7 separate regions of the Homo sapiens genome follow, and all the other regions are linked to region 6. The links are contacts of gene promoters, found by promoter capture Hi-C in blood cells and fetal thymus (Javierre and others, 2016). All regions are on one chromosome and are shown on one strand. Each heading gives the region's core, a stretch centred on a gene start or on the middle of the fragment in contact. The rest is flanking DNA. Distances are from core to core; before and after follow the strand shown.

Region 1 (2,700 bases), core at 84-2,583, 820 kb before region 6:
TGACTAGACAGAGCACAGAGGATTTTAGGGCAGGGAAACCACCCTGTATGATACTGTGAGGGTGGATACTCATTATACATTTGTCCAAACCCACAGAATGTACAACACCAAGTGTACCCTAGTGGCAACTCTGGAGTCTGGGTGATAATGATGTGTCATGCTCAGTCCACCCTGGTGGGAATGTTGATAATGGGGAGGCTGTGCATGTGTGAGGGAAAAGGGTATATGGAAACCTGTACCTTCAGCTCAATTTTACTGTGAGCCTAAAACTGCTTTAAAAAATAAAGTCTACTAAAAAGAAAAAAACTGGAAAAAAAATGCAAAGTGACATGCTTTTGTGTGTGTTCTTTCTCATTCATCAAATTCGGTATTTATTTGATAACTTGCTTTTTTCTCCATTCGCTCTTGTTTAAATGCTTATTAGCTGGTTATTATTCATCGGGGCATAAACCTGTATATTTCTTATTTTTTTTCTCTCCTGTTTTTCCATTTTATTCTTTTCTAGGCATACTTTTAGAAAGAGATCTTCAGCTTTATCACTCTATTAGCTTTAAAACTTTTCTGCTATCACATTTAGAAAATATATTTATAAAATCTCTTCTGTAATTTGTTCATTTTTTACAAGTATTAGCACTGTCTTTTTGTTTCATGGATGCAATGTCTTTTCTTATCTCTCTGATGACCATATATATTTCTTCTTCTACCCTCTGCTTTGTCCTTAAGTTCCTTCTTCTGATTTGTTTTCTGTTTTTTTTTTAAGTTGGAGGCTTTTCTGAATGTTATTTATGTCTGTTTACTCATATTTAAGAAAGAAATGTCCATACATGTATACACACAAAACTGACTTGAATTCTTTTTGCGTTGGCCTGGTTTATTTATGAGTTAGTTTAATTATAGGATTGGCACGAAAGGGCCTGAGTCTTTGTATTGGAAAACTCAAAATGTCAGTAACGGTGAGAGTTTTTCCCTTCTTGGGCCAGTTGCTACAGTAGGAGCCTCCAGTCTTCTGCTTATGGCATAAACCTTGCTGTCAGTACTCTAGAAGTCAGGGAGGAAAGGGCTTGGGGATCCCACTTTTCTCCGTGAGACTGTTAACAAACCTCCTTTTTCAGCACAGTTGCCTCCTTTCCCTTCTGTGTCTTGTGTCACCAAGTTGGGTATCTCTCTGATTAAATTTCTTGGTAAAACAAAGCTGGACGATGAGTACTTGTCTCTCTGCCCCAGGTGCAGCAGTGTACCTGCTCCTCATTGAGACCACTTCCCAGCTTAATCACTTAACTCACCTTTTACAGGACCTGAAGCCTCAAATCAGTACGCCTCTCTGGGGTTGGTGCTTGTTGGGTTCTTCCTCAACAGGGAGCTTTCTCTCGTTTACTCAGTAGGTTACCAAATTCATACACTTCACATCTTTTTAATTCTTACATATTGTTCTCTTTGGTGTTCTTTCGCCTTGTGTGATCCACTCATTCATGCATTCACTCATTCAACGAATATTTTCTGAACACCTTCTCTGTGCCTGGCACTGTGTCAGGTGAAGTGGATGCAGTGAGCCAGTGGGCAGAAATCTCTTCCCTCATGTGCCTTACATTTTAGGAGCATGAGGCAGAGAATAAACAAACAAATGACATATACCGTATGTCAGATGATGGTCAGTAACACGTGTGGGAAAAGATAATGTGGGGAAGAGGTAGAGAACATGCTGGTCAGAGAAGCCCCACAGATAAGGTGCTATTTGAGCTGAAAGCTGGCAAAAGTGTAGAAACAAGCCTTGCAGTAGAAAGTGAAGGAGGTCCTGCAGCTCTGGGCTGATTACCTGGGCATGGTTAGGTGCTCTTCCTCTGCTCCTTGAGCATCTTGAGCATGCTTTAATTATAACACTTATCATCATGTCCTATTGTGATTATTAAATCACATGTCTGTTTTCATGACTTGGCAGAGCCGCTCAACATCTGGAACTTTGTCTTACTAACTTTTATATTCTCAGAATCTAATACATCATATTAGATGTTCAGTGCATAATTGTTAATTCAATGAATAAGAAAGGAAAACCTCAAGTAAATTGCTGACTAGAATCAAGCCCTCAAGCTCTGAATTTAGGGTTAGGAGCCTGGGTTAGGAAGAAAGACTGTATATATGCTTTTGAGGCAAGCAGTCAGTGAGGGAATGAGGCATGATTACTTGCAGGTGGCTACAAGCAATAAAAATGCGGTCAAAAAGGTTAGCAGAGGGATTGCCCCACTAGTAGATAGGAACTGTTACAACAGCCTGTGACAATGAAGACAGATTGCAAACTTCCTACTTAGGCACAGATGAGAATGTAACACAGAAGAAACTGGCCGCAACTGGTTAAAGCCAAGATGGTCGAAAACTTGGCTGACTGCTGACCCTTAGCTTCATTATGCCCTTAATATCATAAAACTTCCATGGGGAAATTCCCACTCCCATCATGCACCTGACGCCATGACAGTTCCGGATTAACCATCTTTAGTCAAGAAAAGGGTGGCACCCCGATTCCGGGAATTGCCCGCCCATTTCCCAGAAAACCCCTCCCCTTGATTACAGAGTACTCCATACCTTCATTGTGCTTATTCATATAGTACGTGAACCACATTGCCTGTGACTCAAATCTTTGAGTGCCTGCACTCCTCCCTTGAGGGTGTCGTTGGTTTTGCTCCACAATAAAATGTCTATACTTTCGCT
Region 2 (2,700 bases), core at 24-2,523, 770 kb before region 6:
AGACCAGCCTGGCCAGCACGGTGAAACCCCATCTCTACTAAAGATACAAAAATTAGCCAGGCGTGGTGGCAAGCACCTGTAATCCCAGCTACTCGAGAGGCTGAGGCAGGAGAATCGCTTGAACCCGGGAGACAGAGGTTGCAGTGAGCCAAGATCGCGCCATTGCACTCCAGGCCTGGGGGACAAGAGCGAGACTTCGTCTCAAAAAAAAAAAAAAAAGAAAGAAATAAAGAAAATGACCATACTGCCAAAAGCAATCTACAAATTCAATGCAATTCCCATCCAAATACCAACATCATTCTTCACAGAACTAGAAAAAAAAATCCTAAAATTCATATGGAACCAAAAAACAGACCACATAGCCAAAGCAAAACTAAGGAAAAAGAACAAAAGGAAGAAATCAGGAAGCATCATATTACCTGACTTCAAAGTATACTATAAGGCCATAGTCACCAAAATAGCATGGTTCTGGGTATAAAAATAGGCATATAGACCAATGGAACAGAATAGAGAACCCAAAAATAAACCCAAATACTTACAGCCAACTGATCTTTGACAAAGCAAACAAAAACACAAAGTGGGGAAAGGACATCCTATTCAACAAATGGTGCTGGGATAATTGGCAAGCTACAAGTAGAAGAATGAAACTGGATCCTCATCTCTCACCTTATACAAAAATCAACTCAAGATGGATCAAGAACTTAAATCTAAGACCAGAAACCATAAAGATTCTAGAAGATAATATCGGAAAAACCTTCTAGAGAGTGGCTTAGGCAGAGACTTCAGGACTAAGAACCCAAAAGCAAATGCAACAAAAACAAAGATGAATAGATGGAACTTAATTAAGCTAAAAAGCTTCTGCGTAGCAAGGGAAATAATCAGTAAACAGACAACCCACAGAGTGGGAGAAAATATTCACAAACTATGCATCTGACAAAGGACTAATATCCAGAATCTATGAGGAACTCAAGCAAATCATCAAGAAAAAAACAAATATAAAAAATTAAAATGAGTCTATAAAAGTTTTACTTTATGGTCAGACATTAAAATTGGATAAATAATGTCTACAATATTTTACTAAAATTAAATTTAACATTAATAGCACATTAATATAAAGGTAAAATTTAACTTATTTAGTATAAAATTATACAAAAAATAGTCAAATATAAAATGGTGTTTATTTTTTTTTAAGTCCCGAGGGTGGCCAGGTAAGTCACAATGCCCCTCATCCCCAAGGCCATAGCACGCGGGGGTGGTGAAGGCCACAAGAAGGCCAAGACTTCAAGAGGGGCCAGGGCCACAGCATCCCTTGGGCGGCGCTGAGCAGGAATGGAGCGGGAGGCGTCACCATGGGGCTTCAAGCCCCAGGATATGCAACAAAAATTATATGCTTATTTTCCACTTTCTTTTCCCTCAGAACTAAAAGTCTTTTAGCACAGGTACCACCCCTAGAATTTCCAGTACACCAGCACCAGCCTGAAAACCATGTTCTTATTAAAAGATGAAAAAAGATTAAAAAAAAAAACTCGAGCCTGGGAAGGACCCTATTTTATGTATTAACCACTGAGACCGCCGTCCGCACAGCTGAGAAAGAATGGACCCATCATATTTGAGTCAAGAAAACATCTTCTTCGTTAGAATTATGGGTTACTGTACTAAGATTAAGCCCTTCTAAGTTAAAGAAAGCTTCATTTTAATACATCTTTTATATATTTTTTTCTTTTGTTATTAGCTCCTTTGTTATAAATATAACTAAGTCTAACTCACCTTAGACCATTGTCTTTAATGCTTGTTTTCTCATACTTTGTGGAAATAAAAAAAGATTAACGACAGCTAGCCTTTTCACACAAATATTTATGTCCCGGCCCTCTAATTGACACAATTACCCGTAGCACTCATCATTGTGAGCACCTGCAGCCAAGGCATCGATTTTCTGCTCCTACAGCCTGGCAACCTTGTAGTAAATGGGACTACATCCTTTAAACTACTCAAGAGCAAAGTTAGACTTCCACAAAAAAGGTTTGTGCAGATCTAAAACCCTTCATCTATTTCACCAAAAGGGCTACCCCTTCTAACTGTCAGCCCTTATCAATGTAACTCTGTCCTTCTCTTTATCACCACCTCCACCTTAACTAACTCTAGACCTGCCCTTGGTCGCTTAGATGGCATGGGGATTGACATAAATGAAAAAGACCCCCTAGGTGTTTTTAAAACACGCATTATTCCCCCATCTTCCCCTTCTTCAGTAGCCTCGGTTCTAGATCCCACACCAGTTGCCCCTACATCTAATAATAAAACTAGGTTGTCTATTGTAAAAATAAGACATCTAAGACAGACCTTAGCCATTAAGACAAAATATCAAGATGCAAATGCCTGGCTGGAATGAATTAAATATTCCCTTCGCACTTTAAATAAAAATTATTATCACGCTTGTACGCATGGTAGCCCAGAGGGCCAGATTATCCCCTTTCCACTCGGACGGTCTCCTCATTGACCAGAAATGGACATATGGTGGCTCTCTTGCAAAATCCCACAGTTTAGGATAATCCATCATGCTGAGCTCTCTATCTGTTATTTCCTGAAACTCAATACCCCGGGGGTCCGCCCCCGAGGGCAAGCCTGCTTCCACCTCTGAATGCCAAGTTTACTTTGTGCCTCTCACGGCAAGAGTAAAATTTGGTGTTCCTTAGAAGCATAAAA
Region 3 (2,700 bases), core at 141-2,640, 840 kb before region 6:
CTGGGGCAGAATTCAGACTTTTCTGTCTCCTGCAGCTCAAGAATTCATGCCCTTGTAGGGGTGAAAGAGAGGTAGGGATCTGCCTACTTCCCGACTTTATTTTCTTTTTTACAATCCCAGATTTTCTGTGCCTTGGAGCTGCCTAAATCTCAGAGCAACCTAATGAGTAGGAAATCACCTAGATCACAAGCAGGTGACAATATCGAAGGATGAAGGGAATACTTTTTGTTTGTTTTTGTCGCTAAAGGCCAGTTTAGTCTCTGTATACCCCCCATTCCCCCCATCATCCTTCACCCTCAGGGAATGAAAGTTACCTCTAAGTCTTGAAGCAGCCCATGTCATACCTGTGCTCTCCAGCCTGCTGGTACCTACAAATAGTTACAGGCATTCTTCTTCTGGTTGGTCCCAGCTCTGAGTCTACTGAGCCATGGTGTGTCTGCCTTGAGAGTGCCTTTTGCAATTCTGTCTATGATCATACCTCAGGAAAGAAATGGCAAGCCACAGAAATTATGAAAAGTTTAGAGAGGCAGTCTTACAAAGAAATAAATTTAAATTGTCTCTTAAAGCTGGAAAAGGAGCCCGTGGATATATAGAGCACCAAAATCCATAAAATTTTTAAAATGAAAATAAATAGCAATTTACTTATTAAATACTATATTATTATTCCCCTGGTATACATGACACATCCAACATTTATTAAGCTCAGACTATGAGCTATTCATTGTGCTAGGTGATTCACACATTATCCTGTTTCTTTTCACAACATTACTGCAAGATAGGCATTATATTTTTATTTTACAGACAAGAATCAGAGAGAGAGAGGCTAAGTAACCCTCCCAAGGCCAACTAGCTAGTGAATGAAGTAGGATTTGAAGATGCATTAAAAATGTTTTAAGTGTCTGCTTTTTCTACTACACAAAGTTGCCTGTCTTGAAGCACAAAGGAGAAGGCTGGGACAACTAATTAAAGAAGGATCTTTTCAGCCTACAGTAGCATTGTGTTTATGTTGAATCAGGAACCAGCACCCTTGTCTCTGGTAGTGGAGTCATCCCAAAGCCCAGATGTACTCTACCAAGACAGCTTATAATCTGGCTTGTGGTAACATGAGATTTTATGAAAATGGACCTTTATTATGTGATGTCTCAAATTTTATTGAGATTTAATATATGAGACCCTAGTCTAATTCCATACTCTTTGCAATTTCTTCTCAATTTGATCCCTCCTTTCACTATAATATCCCTGAAATGAAAAATGAACATCCATAGTCACCAGTATAAAGCATTGAATTGAAATTTTGAGGCTCTCCTTTTCAGTGGTCTTACCTTCTTAGGGAACTCTTGATAATATACAATGTATGATATTGCCAATTAAGAGACTAAAATGTTAAATACTTCTAACCACTACAGATTTCCAAGCATCCTTTATAATATTTTAAGAGTATTTTTTTTTCACTTCAAGACAAACGTGGTACCTTAAAATTCTTAATTTACATACATTTTCTATATCAGACAGAGTAAACTAGGTATCTTTCAGCAAAGGAGGAAGGTCCAGAAAAAAGTGCAGAACATAGCAGAGAGCATTCTTGAGCACGTAGCTGGGGAAACAGAGGTAACAGCTGTCACATAAGCAGAGGCCCTGTAGGCCCGGGTGGCAGATACAAGGTCTCAATGCTCTTACTTCACCTTTCTCTTCCTGAGCCCTCAGTACTGAGAATTCATGGCTCAAGTACATGCAACCACTACCAAATTGATTCGAGTTGACATTTGTAACAAAAACTATTCTCTATCATGCTTTATTTTTTTTTCTGCCTCGGGGAAATGGCTGAATCATTTCACAAATCCCTTAGGATACAGAGACAGAGAGAAGGGATAGATTTAAATGTTTTCTTCCTTTTGATTTAGACTGACTATAATGCTTGATGATAAAGCATGTACAACAAAAATAAACACTTTCCATAATTATATTAATTTACGGATAGCAATGAAAATGATCTGAAGGGATTTCTGCAGAAGAGTTAATACCTGTAGTGCTTCTCTCTCTGGATGATGGGATTATGAGTGTTGTTCTTTGTCTGCTTTTGTTTGGCTACATTTTCTGGATTTTTTTTCAGTAATGATTTAAATTGCCCGCTTTTGTAACAGAGACAAAAAGAAATGGGCTTAATAAAAGAAATAATAATTTTTTTGATATTCAGGGTTTTTTTTTACCTTTTTCGCATAAGCAGCCTAGACTAAGAATAATTGGCCCCAAATAAATTAGACATACAAAGCAAAAAGGTAAAATGACATTCTCAATTTTGGAAAGTTGATTTTTAAAATGTAAATTTCATAAATCATTGCAAAAAATTTGTATGGTATGTCAAGTTACCAATACTTAAAAAAATTCAGTGAGAACATTTGATTTGTTTTCTTTTCATTTTTTCTTCGGAGACAGAGTCTCGCTCTGTCGCCCAGGCTGGAGTGCAGTAATGCAATCTTGGCTCACTGCAACCTTTGCCTCCTAGTTTCAAGCGATTCTCCAGCTTCAGCCTCCCGAGTAGCAGGGATTACTGGTGCACGCCACCAAGCTCAGCTAAGTTTTTATATTTTTAGTAGAGACAAAGTTTCACCATGTTGGCCAGGCTGGTCTCGAACTCCTGACCTCAAGTGATCCACCCACCTCGGCCTCTCAAAGTGCTGGAATTACAGGCATGAGCCACTG
Region 4 (2,700 bases), core at 74-2,573, 880 kb before region 6:
AGCCAGATTGTGGAGGAACTGATAAACCTTCTTAAGGAGTTAGGATTTTATCCTAAGAGAAAATACCAGCCAATGACAGATTTGAAGAGTGCGTGCGTGTGTGTGTGTGTGTGTGTGTGTGTGTGTGTGTGTGTGTGTGGTGACCAGGCTTAGATTTATAGTTTGGAATACAGTTTGAAAAGATTATTCCAGAAGAATTTGGAGAAAGACTGAAGGGAAGCTAGGTTGGAGACAGTTTGAGGGTATATGTGATATGGTGTTGGCTTGTATTAGAGAAGTGGAGAGAAAGAGAGAGAAGAGGATAAAACTGAGGGTCATTTAATATATCAAATGAATAAGACTCAGTGGAAATCAGCTGTAAGAGGCAAAGGGAAAAGGAGAGCCCAGGATGATTCCCGGCTTTCTGGCTTGAGCAAATGAGTGAATGGAAGTGCCTTTTAATGAGAAAGGGGATAGGTAGTGGAAGTAGATTCTCAAAAAGGCCAGGGAAGATGAGTATTTCCACTTTAGACATGTTGAATTTGAGGTGTCAAATATGTACCAGTAGATATGTCTAATGGGCAGCTAGATATATGAGCCTGGAACTGTGAAGAGAAATCTAGGTCAGAAATACAAGTTAGGAATGATCAGTCTGTTGTGAGTAAATTGATGTCTTGGGAGTGGTCAATATCTCATAGAAGGTAAAATAAGAAAAGAAGAATGGCTAAGAAGAAGCCCTGAGGAACCCATCATTTAAGGAATCATCAGAGGAGGTAGAAGCGAGCAAATGAGACTGGCCAGATAGGCAGGAAGAAAACTAGGAGGGCTGGGGCCAGAATCAATGAACAGATGCTTTTAAAAAAGGGTGCACGAGCCATAGTGTCAAATGTTGCTGATAAGGGCCGACGTTTCCTTTAGGATTTGGTAATACATGGGTTGTCAAGGGAAGCTTCAGTGGAGTGACAGAAGTGGACATTAGTGAGTTCCCAAGTGAGTGAGAAGTGAGGAAGGAGAAGCAAGGAGTGTATACAATTAAAACATTTGTTGTGAAATGGAGTTAGTGGATGGGATGGGAGCTGGAGGGAGAAGTGTGTGGTTTAGGGAGTGGTTTGTTTGACAGGGAATGGTAGTGAATGTTTAAATGCTCATGGAAGTTATCTCATAAAGACAAACATTGAAGGAACAAGAGAGAGGAGTAATCAATAGATAGTTTAGTATTTGAGGAGGCAGTCAGAGATAATGATAATAGTAGTAATGAAAGTTGTTCCCCTCTTATTCAGTAACTGTTCTGAGGGCATGATTCCATTTAATTCCTACACAGCCTCTCCTACAGAGGTACTTTTTATTGTTATCCTGTTTTTTTGAGATAAGGAAACTGAGGCATAGAATGGTACTCTGAGTAACCAACATCACATAGTAAGTGGTGGAGACAGCATTGATACCCAGTCAATCTAGCTTGAGACTTGCACCATTAACCACAGTGTCCTATTGTTGGGTTCACAACCTGGCTGTAGACTCAACCCTTAGTACTGTAACTGAAGAGAAGGTGGATAGAGCAGGTACAAATGCAGTTGTCAGCTTAGTTAGCATCATGAATTTTCTAGAGATGCCATAACAAATTTCCCCAAACTGGGTGCCTCAGAAATTACAGAGATTTATTCTGTCAAAGTTTTGGAACCCAGAAGTCCAAAATCAAGGTCAAGATGTAAGCAGATTTTCACTCCTCTGAACAAGCTTCTTAGCTTGGGTCTGCATACTTCCAAACTCTGCCTCTGTCTTTACCTGGCCATCTTTTCTGTGTCTCAGATCTCTCTCTGCATTTCTCTGTAAGGATGCCTGCCATTGGATTCCAGGCCCGCCCTAAATCTACAATGATCTCATCTCAAGATCCTTACATTAATTACATCTGCAAGATGCTTTTTACAAATGAGGTCACATTCATAGGTTTTAAATGTTAAAACCTGGGCATGTCTTTTTGGGGTCCACTGTTCAATCCACTGCAGTTAGGAGATTGGATGAGTTTCTGACAAGTGGACTTGATAATTTCTGTGAGGTAACAATGTGGGTTATTTGCTGAGAATGTGTCCCAATGTAGAGGGATCAAACATATAAGGGGAGTGAAGAAATCTTGAAGTATCATTATTAAAATATGAAGAGTGAGCTGACTAGGAAATGTAGTTTGTGGAGCAGTGTGGAGAACCAGATGAAGTTTATTGTCATGAATTTATAGTTGTGTGATTTTCCCTAGCAATGATTAGCAGCCCGGGTGCAAACACTGAGGAAGCTGAGAGTTAAAGTATCTAGATCCTGGAAAGAGGGGGTGTGGGAGGGAAGGAAGGACAAAGGCAGAGGGGGTTAGGATACTGGCAAGTGGCTTTCCATGGAAGGCCATAGAGGTGAAGAAGTCGGATAGAGGACTACTGGCTTGGTCAAAAGCAGTCAAAAGAGTGGGAGTAACTGAGTGAACTCGCTATAACGATACTAGGCCATTCTCCAAGTACAGAATATTTATTACTTTAAACACACAAAAAAATCTGGATTAGTGGTTGCAGTAAAGGCAAATAGAAGTTTAATGGAGATAGAAAACTCAAAGGAAAGAGAGGACGGGATTCTGGACAGGCCACTCGTGTAACCCCAGAGTCATGCAGAAAAATGGCAGGGCTTGGGGTGGTGTGTGTGTGTGTGTGTGTGTGTGTGTGTAAGCCTTGGCACATAAGATGA
Region 5 (2,700 bases), core at 145-2,644, 810 kb before region 6:
GCCCTGGCGGGTGGATCACCTGAGGTCAGGAGTTTGAGACCAGCCTGGCCAACATGGTGAAACCCCATCTCTACTAAAAAAAAAAAAAAAAAAAAAAAAAATAGCCGGGCACGGTGGTGGGCACCTGTAATCCCAGCTACTCGGGAGGCTGAGGCAGGAGAATCACTTGAACCCAGGAGGCGGAGTTTGCAGTGAGCTGAGATTGCGCCATTGCACTCCAGCCTGGGTGATAGAGTAAGACTCTGTCTCAAAAAACAAAAAGATCCTGTATCCAGAATTTATAAAGAACACTCAAAATTCAATAATTGCAGAACAACCAATTAAATGTTTAAAATGGGCAAAAAGATGATACATGGATGTCAAATAAGCACATAAAAATACACTCAACATAATTCATCTTTAAGGAAATGGAAACTAAAACTACAGTGAGATGCCATTATATATTTATTAGAACAGCTAAAATTTAAATTAAAATAGATTACCCATACCAAGTGCTGACAAAGATTTGGAAAAACTGAAACTCTTGTGCACTGCTGGTGGGAATGTCAAATGGTATAACCTTTATGCAAAAGAGTTTGTCCATTTTTAAAAACTTAATATGCATCTACAATGCTAAGGTCTGAGAAGGATACAGAGCAATTGAAACTCTTACTTATTGCTGGTGGGAATGAAAAGTCACATTAGAAAAGAGTTTGGAAATTTCTTATAAATTTAAACATATGCTTACCACATGACACAGCAAGCTTGCTGTAAGTTTTTTATCCACTTGAAATAATTATGTATGTTCACACAAAAATCTGCATGTAAATATTCATGAAAGTTTATTTGTAATTATGCAAAAGTGCAAAAAACTCGATTATCCCTCACCTGAAAAATGAATAAACAAACTTTGGTAGATCCACATAATTGAATTGTACTCTGCAATAAAAAGAATAACTACTGACACCCACATCTACATGGATAGATCTTTACTCTAAGTGAAAGAAGCCAGACTCAAAATTCTACATACATTTTAATTTCATTTTATGACATTCCATAAAGGGCAAAAGTATAGTAAAGACTAGATCAGTGGTTTCTAGGAGCTTGGAGTTGAGAGGAAGGCCGGCAACAAAGCAGCAGGAAGGAAATTTTTGTTATGATGAAACTATTCTCTATCTTAACTTTTGTGGTAGTTTCATGACTACATGCATTTGTAAAAATTCACAGAAATAAGTATGATTGTTTGTAGATTATGCCATGATAAACATGGAAAACATGCATCAGGTTGGAAGATAGAATTATGGATGTTTTTGATATTCTGATTTTTTTTTATTTCTCTGGAATAAATACTCATTGCTTTTATAATAAATAAGAAAGATGAAACTTTAAAGAGACTCACAGAAATCAGGGACTTTAAAACAATGAATATTCCTTATCCGTTAGGTTAATAATGTCCAGGATTTGTGAATGTGATGATGATATGATTAAGGAAAATGTCCTCAGAAGTGTTAGTTGAAACATCAGTTTGGCAACATTACTAGTAATTATGTTCATATTATTTGACCCAGTAATTCCACATATAGGTATTTAACCTAAAATGTCGGCTTTGGTGCTATTGCATACCTCAAAACCACTTGATACAAACTGGTCTGTAAAATGTTTATGAGGACAGATTAGCATCTCTGTGAGTTGTTCTATCCTCTCTGGTCTACACACTACAGATCTAGGGGAAGCTCCAGCTTCTCATCTGCTTGATTTGAGTCCCATGGAGAAGCTCTGATATGTGGTAAGGTGGAAAAATATGACACGGTGCGATCAAGGCATTAGAGGATGAAGCTATTGAAGTGAAAACAAAATTGAAGAGGCAAATTCTTTTGAGCAGAGGGTAATTTTTTTCTTATTTCATTTAAAGATAGATTGTCCTTAGGAAGTACAGTTCAAAGGGGAATCAGCATGATGTTAAGGAAAGCAAGCAAAGGTGGGGATGTAGCAGCCCACCTAAATGACACTAACTCCAAATCACCATCATCCAGGGTACTCAAGAATAGGCAATTACAGAAAGCTTACCTCAAGTGATATGAAATATTAGACTAGCTGAGAATACAAACATCATCTGTGTATAAAACAGTCCTTTTTCTTAGAGTTCATTAAGTCAAATTTGAATTTAGAGGCAGTTTTAGCAGTCTATGACATCTTAGTATGGCATCTGTTCCTAACTAGCTGAGTGATACTGTGATTTTGACCACTTCACTCAATCTCTCTGAACTTCAGTATTCTCAAAGATGAGAAAACTGGCTTCTGTAGCATCTGAAGTTTCTTCAGAATCTGGTTTCCCAAAATGAGCAAAATAATCTTAAACACATATACACACACATATACATACACAGATATATATATGTGTGTGTGTGTGTTTGGTGTGTGTGTGTGTGTATAAGAATAGCATTGGGCAAAAAAATATAAAAATGTCTAATTGGCATCTAAGCCTACTATAATGAAAGACACATAAGCAGAAAGGTAGTGTAAAACAGTACGTTTTTATTATTTCACTCTTTGACGGCAGACCACAATGGTAAACTTTAACGTCTCTTTTCCTTATTGGGCATAGATAGCTTTGGACCTTCGCAGTAGTGAGACAGCCAGATGGGAAGGGGTCCCCAGAGAAACTCCAGCCCGCACACTGGGCAGAGTGTGCACTGGGGTGGAGCCACAGAAGTTTGCGCC
Region 6 (2,700 bases), core at 18-2,517:
TATATAGAGAGACTGCTGAAGAGAATGAATGAGAAAGTGAGAAAGCTGAAGGTATCTGGTTGTAGGGCAGGCAGAAGGGTGGTCCTGGGATACCTGTAAGAAAAGATAATAATGCACAACCCTGCAATCAATGAGAGAGGAGTTCATAAGTAGCAGAAGTGTTTGGAGAATTAAGGTCTGGATGATAGCCCTTGCCCAAAAGTATGCAATTGCAGTTTTATGGTGGAAAGAATAGAATAAGATACAGAAGAGAGTCAGGCTGTTTCCTAAAGGAATAAGAAACATTGAGACAACCCCTCTCTCCCACCTCACCACTCTCCATGGAGAAAACTGAACTCACATTCAAACTGCAATTCATGGGCGTATCTACGAATTCCCTCAAATGACCGAATGGTGCGTATACGGAATAATGTTTCCAGTTCCTTCCACTCCTCATTGCTGAAGTTTCCCCTGGACCAGGGGCACAGGAAAACGATGGTGCTGGAATTGCTGTCCCAGGTATGAGTCTGCAAATCACTCAGCCAACCTGAGACCAGATTTTGTTTCCAGGAATGGTTGTAAAAGGATGCGATCCAGGTGACATGGAAGGAGAGAGGCTCCTTGAGCCCTGCGACAAAAGAACAGATAGAATGGGGAGAAAGACATTGAGAAAGAGGATGGAGAGAGAAAGGTGCCAGAGTGCGGGAACTCAGAATCTGGAGAAAAGGGGATCCATCATGATCTTAGCAGACATTCACTTGCCACACAGTCCCATGCCTTATCAACCACCTTCATAAGAGCTCAGGGACCTGGAGTCATGGATAGTCAGAATGGAACCAGCCTGGCACTCTCACTTTCCAGGTATATGCTAGGGAAACCACACACACACACACACACACACACACACACACACACACACACACACAGAGAGAGAGAGAGAGACCTTCACCCACCACCCAACTGGGCAGTTGTCAGAGTTCTTACCGTCTGCATTGCCATCACCTGGGAGAACAGCTAACAATGGAAGTAGCAAAAACAGCATATCATTTGCAGATGTTATTTCCTTCTCTCAGAAAAATTGGTCTTTGATTTCTGTTCCAAACAAACCTACCCCACGATATCTCTATTCTGACTTCTTTCTGCAGCCAACAGACAAACCTCCCCTGACTGCAACAAAGAAAATCCACTCCTTCAAAAACCCTGAGATGCCTACTCAGTCTCTCATTTCCCTCTGGTTCTGACTCTCCTCTCTGTTCCAGCTTCTCTCCTTGTCACCAACCTCCAACTTATTCACCTTCCCCTAATTCAACTGCTATGGAACAAGTCTGATGTGGCATTGAAAAGCCACTTAACCACTAAGGACATTTTTTTCTCAATCATACAATAAGAGCATAAAGTGAAATGGCTCCCAGTGTGCTGCCCAATGCTCCCATGTCCCTGCTCTTTTTGATCACTCTGTCCTTTTCAATATTTTCCCATGTATTCTCTTCCCCTGTCTCTTCAGCCCCTTACTACATTCACATTTCTGATTTAACATTGATTTATTTGCTTTTTCAGAGTCTCCTACGACTGCCCTGTGCGACAGTACAAACTAACACCTTTTCTCCATTATTCTTAGAGAAGAGCCAGTAACCATCACAAAAAAAAAAAAAAAAAAAAAAAAAAAAAAAAAAAAAAAAACCACAGGAACACTAAAACATATAAAGAAAATTTCCTCTGTTTGATTTTCATTGATATACATTCACTCACCCAACAGTCTCTCTTAGCACCTGCCTGGAGTCAAGCATCTTGGTACACTTAAGAATATGCAGTGGTTGACAACACAATCACTTTACTGAAGGAGCTTTTTCTCTACTTAGGGAGAAAAACACGCCATGAAATATAAATCTTGGTGTACTGAGTTTTATTATACTGTATACACTCTCTGGATAAAAACAAGGCCTGCTTGAAATAATATTTTCTAAAATGGGGGCTCCTAACTAATGTACGCCAGCCCAGAATTTTGACTTCAATGTTTGACTTGGAGTGTTAGTTCCATACAGTTATCATACTGTATCCCCACCTAACAGAGTATCTCACAAGTGGTAGGTGCTTAGTGAATATTTGTCAAATGAATGAATGAATTCAGTCTATGCATCCATTTTTTAATTATGGAGGTGATATTCAACATGAAACTTTTTAAAGATATCATAAAAGTTACTTGTAACCCTATGTAGTGAGATGAGAATCTCATACAGTTTTATTTAGGATAAAAGTACAAGTTACTGGCATGAGATTTACATAAAAGATCCTGCTATAAATGTCCTATTACTTATAAGAAACTAGTCAGAACTTGTGAGCAGTGAAGTTAATGGAGTATTCCAAAGTCTTTATCCCAGGATCCCTTTTTATTAGTCCTATTTGGATGTTTCAGGGTTGTTTTGTTATAAATGAGTCTTTGCCGGACACATTTACATTCCTCTTTTACGCTGCTTGTAACTGTTGAAGGGCTTCTAAATATATGTTTGTGCTTTGTAGATATCATCCATATAAATGTGTCTGGGCTATTTACTATTTTTTGGTTTTCAAAAAAAAAGTATCTGAAGCTAATTTAGGGGGAAAAAATTTTTTTTCTTGAGACAGGGTTTCACTCTGTTACTCAGGCTGGAGTGCAGTGGAATAATCATAGCTCACTGTAACCTCCAACTCCCGGCCTCAAGCAATCCTCCTGTGTCAGCCTCC
Region 7 (2,700 bases), core at 1-2,500, 750 kb before region 6:
GTGTGGGGTATTTTCTTAACTCGCTTGGGTACAACAATATAAGCACAAGGCAAGCTCAGACCAAAGAAGAGGCAGACCACTCCTGGCTGGTTGGTAGTCAAAGATCTAGATAGCAGAAACTTACACAGGAGGCAGTCTTAAGCGGGAACAAGAGAAGTCAGATCTCCACCTCGCAGTGCACGCCTGAGTAGTCTTTCAGACAGTGAGAAGAAACAAGGAAGGAAAAGCTGATGGGGGCGCTGAGGGGTGGGGATAGCTATACCGATAGTGCCTTAGGCCATCTGGTTGCTCTCTTAATCTATTTACTTCCTGCTTAAATGGATTGTTTGAGCTTCCTTCAATCTGTTCCACATTGCTAAGGAGTGGGAGGATGTTCCTGGAAGCAGCAGTCATCTTGGTGCCAGTATGCATTTTCCAGTGGGACTGCAGCCTCCTACAATTCAATTTAAGCTCAGTTCCCAGAACACGTTTTCACAACAATGCCATTCCTTCCCCTCCAACCTCAAGGCTTCTCTCAGCCAGTCCTTCCTTGAAATTTTGTAGTTTCTGTATTGCAGTTTTGTATTCTACTTTTCCTGTTGCTCAAAGCTAATGCCATAAACTCCAGACAACTCTGTTGGCAGAAAGAGCTTCTGTAGTTCTAGGGATGACCTCTTTACTTTGGAGTGGAATAAAAGAGACTCAGTGTTGAGGCAGGAGAGGAGAGTGAATGCATATGGAAACCTGGGGAGTGATGTGAACCAGTCATGATATACTGTACAAGGCCAGAGTTGGCATCATTCATCTGTTTATTGCATGTCTCATGGAGAAAATATGAGTGAAAGAAGTTTCTGGTTCATGAAAACTCCTGTTCTCTGACCCTCCCTGTAATGGACATGCATACTTTCCCACTGTCTTAGTCCATTTAGTGCTGCTGTAATGGAATACTATAGACTGGGTAATTTATACAGAACAGAAATGTATTTCTCACAGTACTTGAGGTGGAAGTCCAAGGTCAAGCATCAGTATCTGGTGAGGCCTTCTTGCTGTGTCCTCACATGACAAACGGGGCGAATTCACCCCCTACATGCCCGTTAGAGTGGCATTAATCAGTCTATTTACGTGAGTGAAATTCTCATGATCTAAATACCTCCCATTTGGCCCAAGCTCCCAACACTGTTGCATTGGGTACTAAGTTTCAACATTATTTTTGAAGGGGGTAAAAACATTGATAGTTTCTACTTCTCCGGCTTTATCTCTGCTATCTTCATTCTTTATTTGCTTATTTTATCTAAAACTGTTCTCCAGAAAGCATTCTTTGAGGATCTTTACTAGATTGATAATTTCTTTACTCTGTTTAATTTCAGGACTTCACTTTGGCTGTCAAAATTTCCCTTGATATAATTTATCTCTAAAATTGAAGATGAGATTCTCTACTGTTGTCAGTAATGAACTCTCCACCCTAAACATCTGGTTTTGGGAATTTTTTTTCTTTTGAGACGGAGTCTTGCTCTGTTGTGATGGCACGATCTCGGCTCATTGCAACCTCTGCCTCCCAGGTTCAAGTGATTCTCCTGCTTCAGCCTCCTAAGTAGCCAGAATTACACGCATGCACCATCAAGCCTGGCTAATTTCTGTATTTTCAGTAAAGACAAGGTTTCACCATGCTGGCCAGGCTGGTCTCAAACTCCTGATCTCAAGTGACCCACCCACCTCGGCCTCCCAAAGTGCTGGGATTAGAGGCGTGAGTCACGATGCCCGGCTGGTTTTGGGAATTCTTACCCCAAATTACTAACATCTATAATTTACTCAGATTTACTTAGCAATAAGGGCAAAATTAACTGAAATTTAGATTTCTTAACCTTTTTTTTTTCTTTTGGAGATAAGGTCTTGCCATGTTGCCCAGGCTGATCTCAAACTCCAGAGCTCAAACAATCTACCTACCTCAGCCTCCCAAAGTGCTGGGATTACAGGCATAAGCCACCACATCCATCCTTAATATTTTGGCTGGAATTTGGGTATTAATATATTAAGAAGAGAGAAATAAAATTTACAAGTAATGGAGAAGTGGTGTTTGAATTTTATTTCCTTTTATGTTTTAGATTAAGGGTTGACAATCTTTGGTTCAAGGAAAGAAACTGCTGTTCACACAAATAAGTGCTTCTATGTGTTTGAATGTTTAAGGTATCAAGTCATGAGTGTCAGAAATGCAAAATAATACAGAATTGGCTGGGCGCGGTGGCTCACGCCTGTAATCCCAGCACTTTGGGAGGCTGAGGCGGGCGGATCACAAGGTCAGGAGATCGAGACCATCCTGGCTAACACAGTGAAACCCCGTCTCTACTAAAAATACAAAAAATTAGCTGGGCATGGTGGCGGGCGCCTATAGTCCCAGCTACTCGGGAGGCTGAGGCAGGAGAATGGTGTGAACCCAGGAGGCGGAGCTTGCAGCGAGCCGAGCTCATGCCACTGCACTCCAGCCTGGGCGACAAAGCGAGACCCCGTCTCAAAACATAATAATAATAATAATAATAATACAGAATTATGGACATACAAGATAGGAGAAGTTTATGGTGCAAATACCTATCGCCTTGGTCTTTTTGTTCCCTAACTCAGTGACAGGTGGCTAACTGCTCCTTAGGCTGATAGAGCCAAAACGTGATTCCAGCCTAAGAATCACAAAAGAGCAAAACAGAGGAGGGATTGCTTAGGTAACAGAGA

The links. Contacts are between HindIII fragments. The CHiCAGO score rates a contact against its expected background, and 5 or more counts as called.
Region 1: a contact is called between a fragment that was not itself captured here and the fragment with the promoter of CD1A in region 6, in 2 of 17 cell types (naive CD8 T cells and total CD4 T cells). The highest score is 6.2, in naive CD8 T cells.
Region 2: a fragment that was not itself captured here is called in contact with the fragment with the promoter of CD1A in region 6 in 1 of 17 cell types (fetal thymus); the score reaches 7.1 in fetal thymus.
Region 3: a contact is called between a fragment that was not itself captured here and the fragment with the promoter of CD1A in region 6, in 4 of 17 cell types (total CD4 T cells, activated CD4 T cells, M2 macrophages and 1 more). The highest score is 9.7, in total CD4 T cells.
Region 4: a contact is called between a fragment that was not itself captured here and the fragment with the promoter of CD1A in region 6, in 1 of 17 cell types (activated CD4 T cells). The highest score is 5.3, in activated CD4 T cells.
Region 5: a contact is called between a fragment that was not itself captured here and the fragment with the promoter of CD1A in region 6, in 1 of 17 cell types (naive CD4 T cells). The highest score is 6.0, in naive CD4 T cells.
Region 7: a contact is called between a fragment that was not itself captured here and the fragment with the promoter of CD1A in region 6, in 5 of 17 cell types (fetal thymus, M0 macrophages, M2 macrophages and 2 more). The highest score is 14.4, in fetal thymus.

Annotation. Positions count from the first base shown.
Region 1 is chr1:159,077,145-159,079,844 of GRCh38, reverse strand. It overlaps a transcript of AIM2 not described here. Among named protein-coding and RNA genes, the nearest start is that of AIM2, 1.7 kb to the right of the region's middle. RefSeq lists an enhancer at 2,338-2,637. The HindIII fragment of the contact is 4,181 bases long and covers 1-2,700 here.
Region 2 is chr1:159,023,818-159,026,517 of GRCh38, reverse strand. All of the region lies in intron 6 of IFI16 (interferon gamma inducible protein 16), which reads right to left. Among named protein-coding and RNA genes, the nearest start is that of IFI16, 15 kb to the right of the region's middle. The HindIII fragment of the contact is 831 bases long and covers 858-1,688 here.
Region 3 is chr1:159,094,424-159,097,123 of GRCh38, reverse strand. It overlaps a transcript of AIM2 not described here. Among named protein-coding and RNA genes, the nearest start is that of AIM2, 19 kb to the right of the region's middle. The HindIII fragment of the contact is 6,509 bases long and covers 1-2,700 here.
Region 4 is chr1:159,128,240-159,130,939 of GRCh38, reverse strand. It overlaps a transcript of AIM2 not described here. Among named protein-coding and RNA genes, the nearest start is that of TRR-TCT4-1, 12 kb to the left of the region's middle. The HindIII fragment of the contact is 785 bases long and covers 931-1,715 here.
Region 5 is chr1:159,058,960-159,061,659 of GRCh38, reverse strand. It overlaps a transcript of AIM2 not described here. Among named protein-coding and RNA genes, the nearest start is that of AIM2, 16 kb to the left of the region's middle. The HindIII fragment of the contact is 1,298 bases long and covers 746-2,043 here.
Region 6 is chr1:158,252,991-158,255,690 of GRCh38, reverse strand. It overlaps CD1A (CD1a molecule), which reads right to left and starts at 1,267. Exons shown (of 6, transcript NM_001763.3): 1 at 964-1,267; 2 at 341-607. The coding sequence starts at 1,021. The HindIII fragment of the contact is 5,152 bases long and covers 1-2,700 here.
Region 7 is chr1:159,003,466-159,006,165 of GRCh38, reverse strand. It overlaps a transcript of IFI16 not described here. Among named protein-coding and RNA genes, the nearest start is that of PYDC5, 2.1 kb to the right of the region's middle. RefSeq lists enhancers at 1-253, 254-779. The HindIII fragment of the contact is 4,916 bases long and covers 1-2,700 here.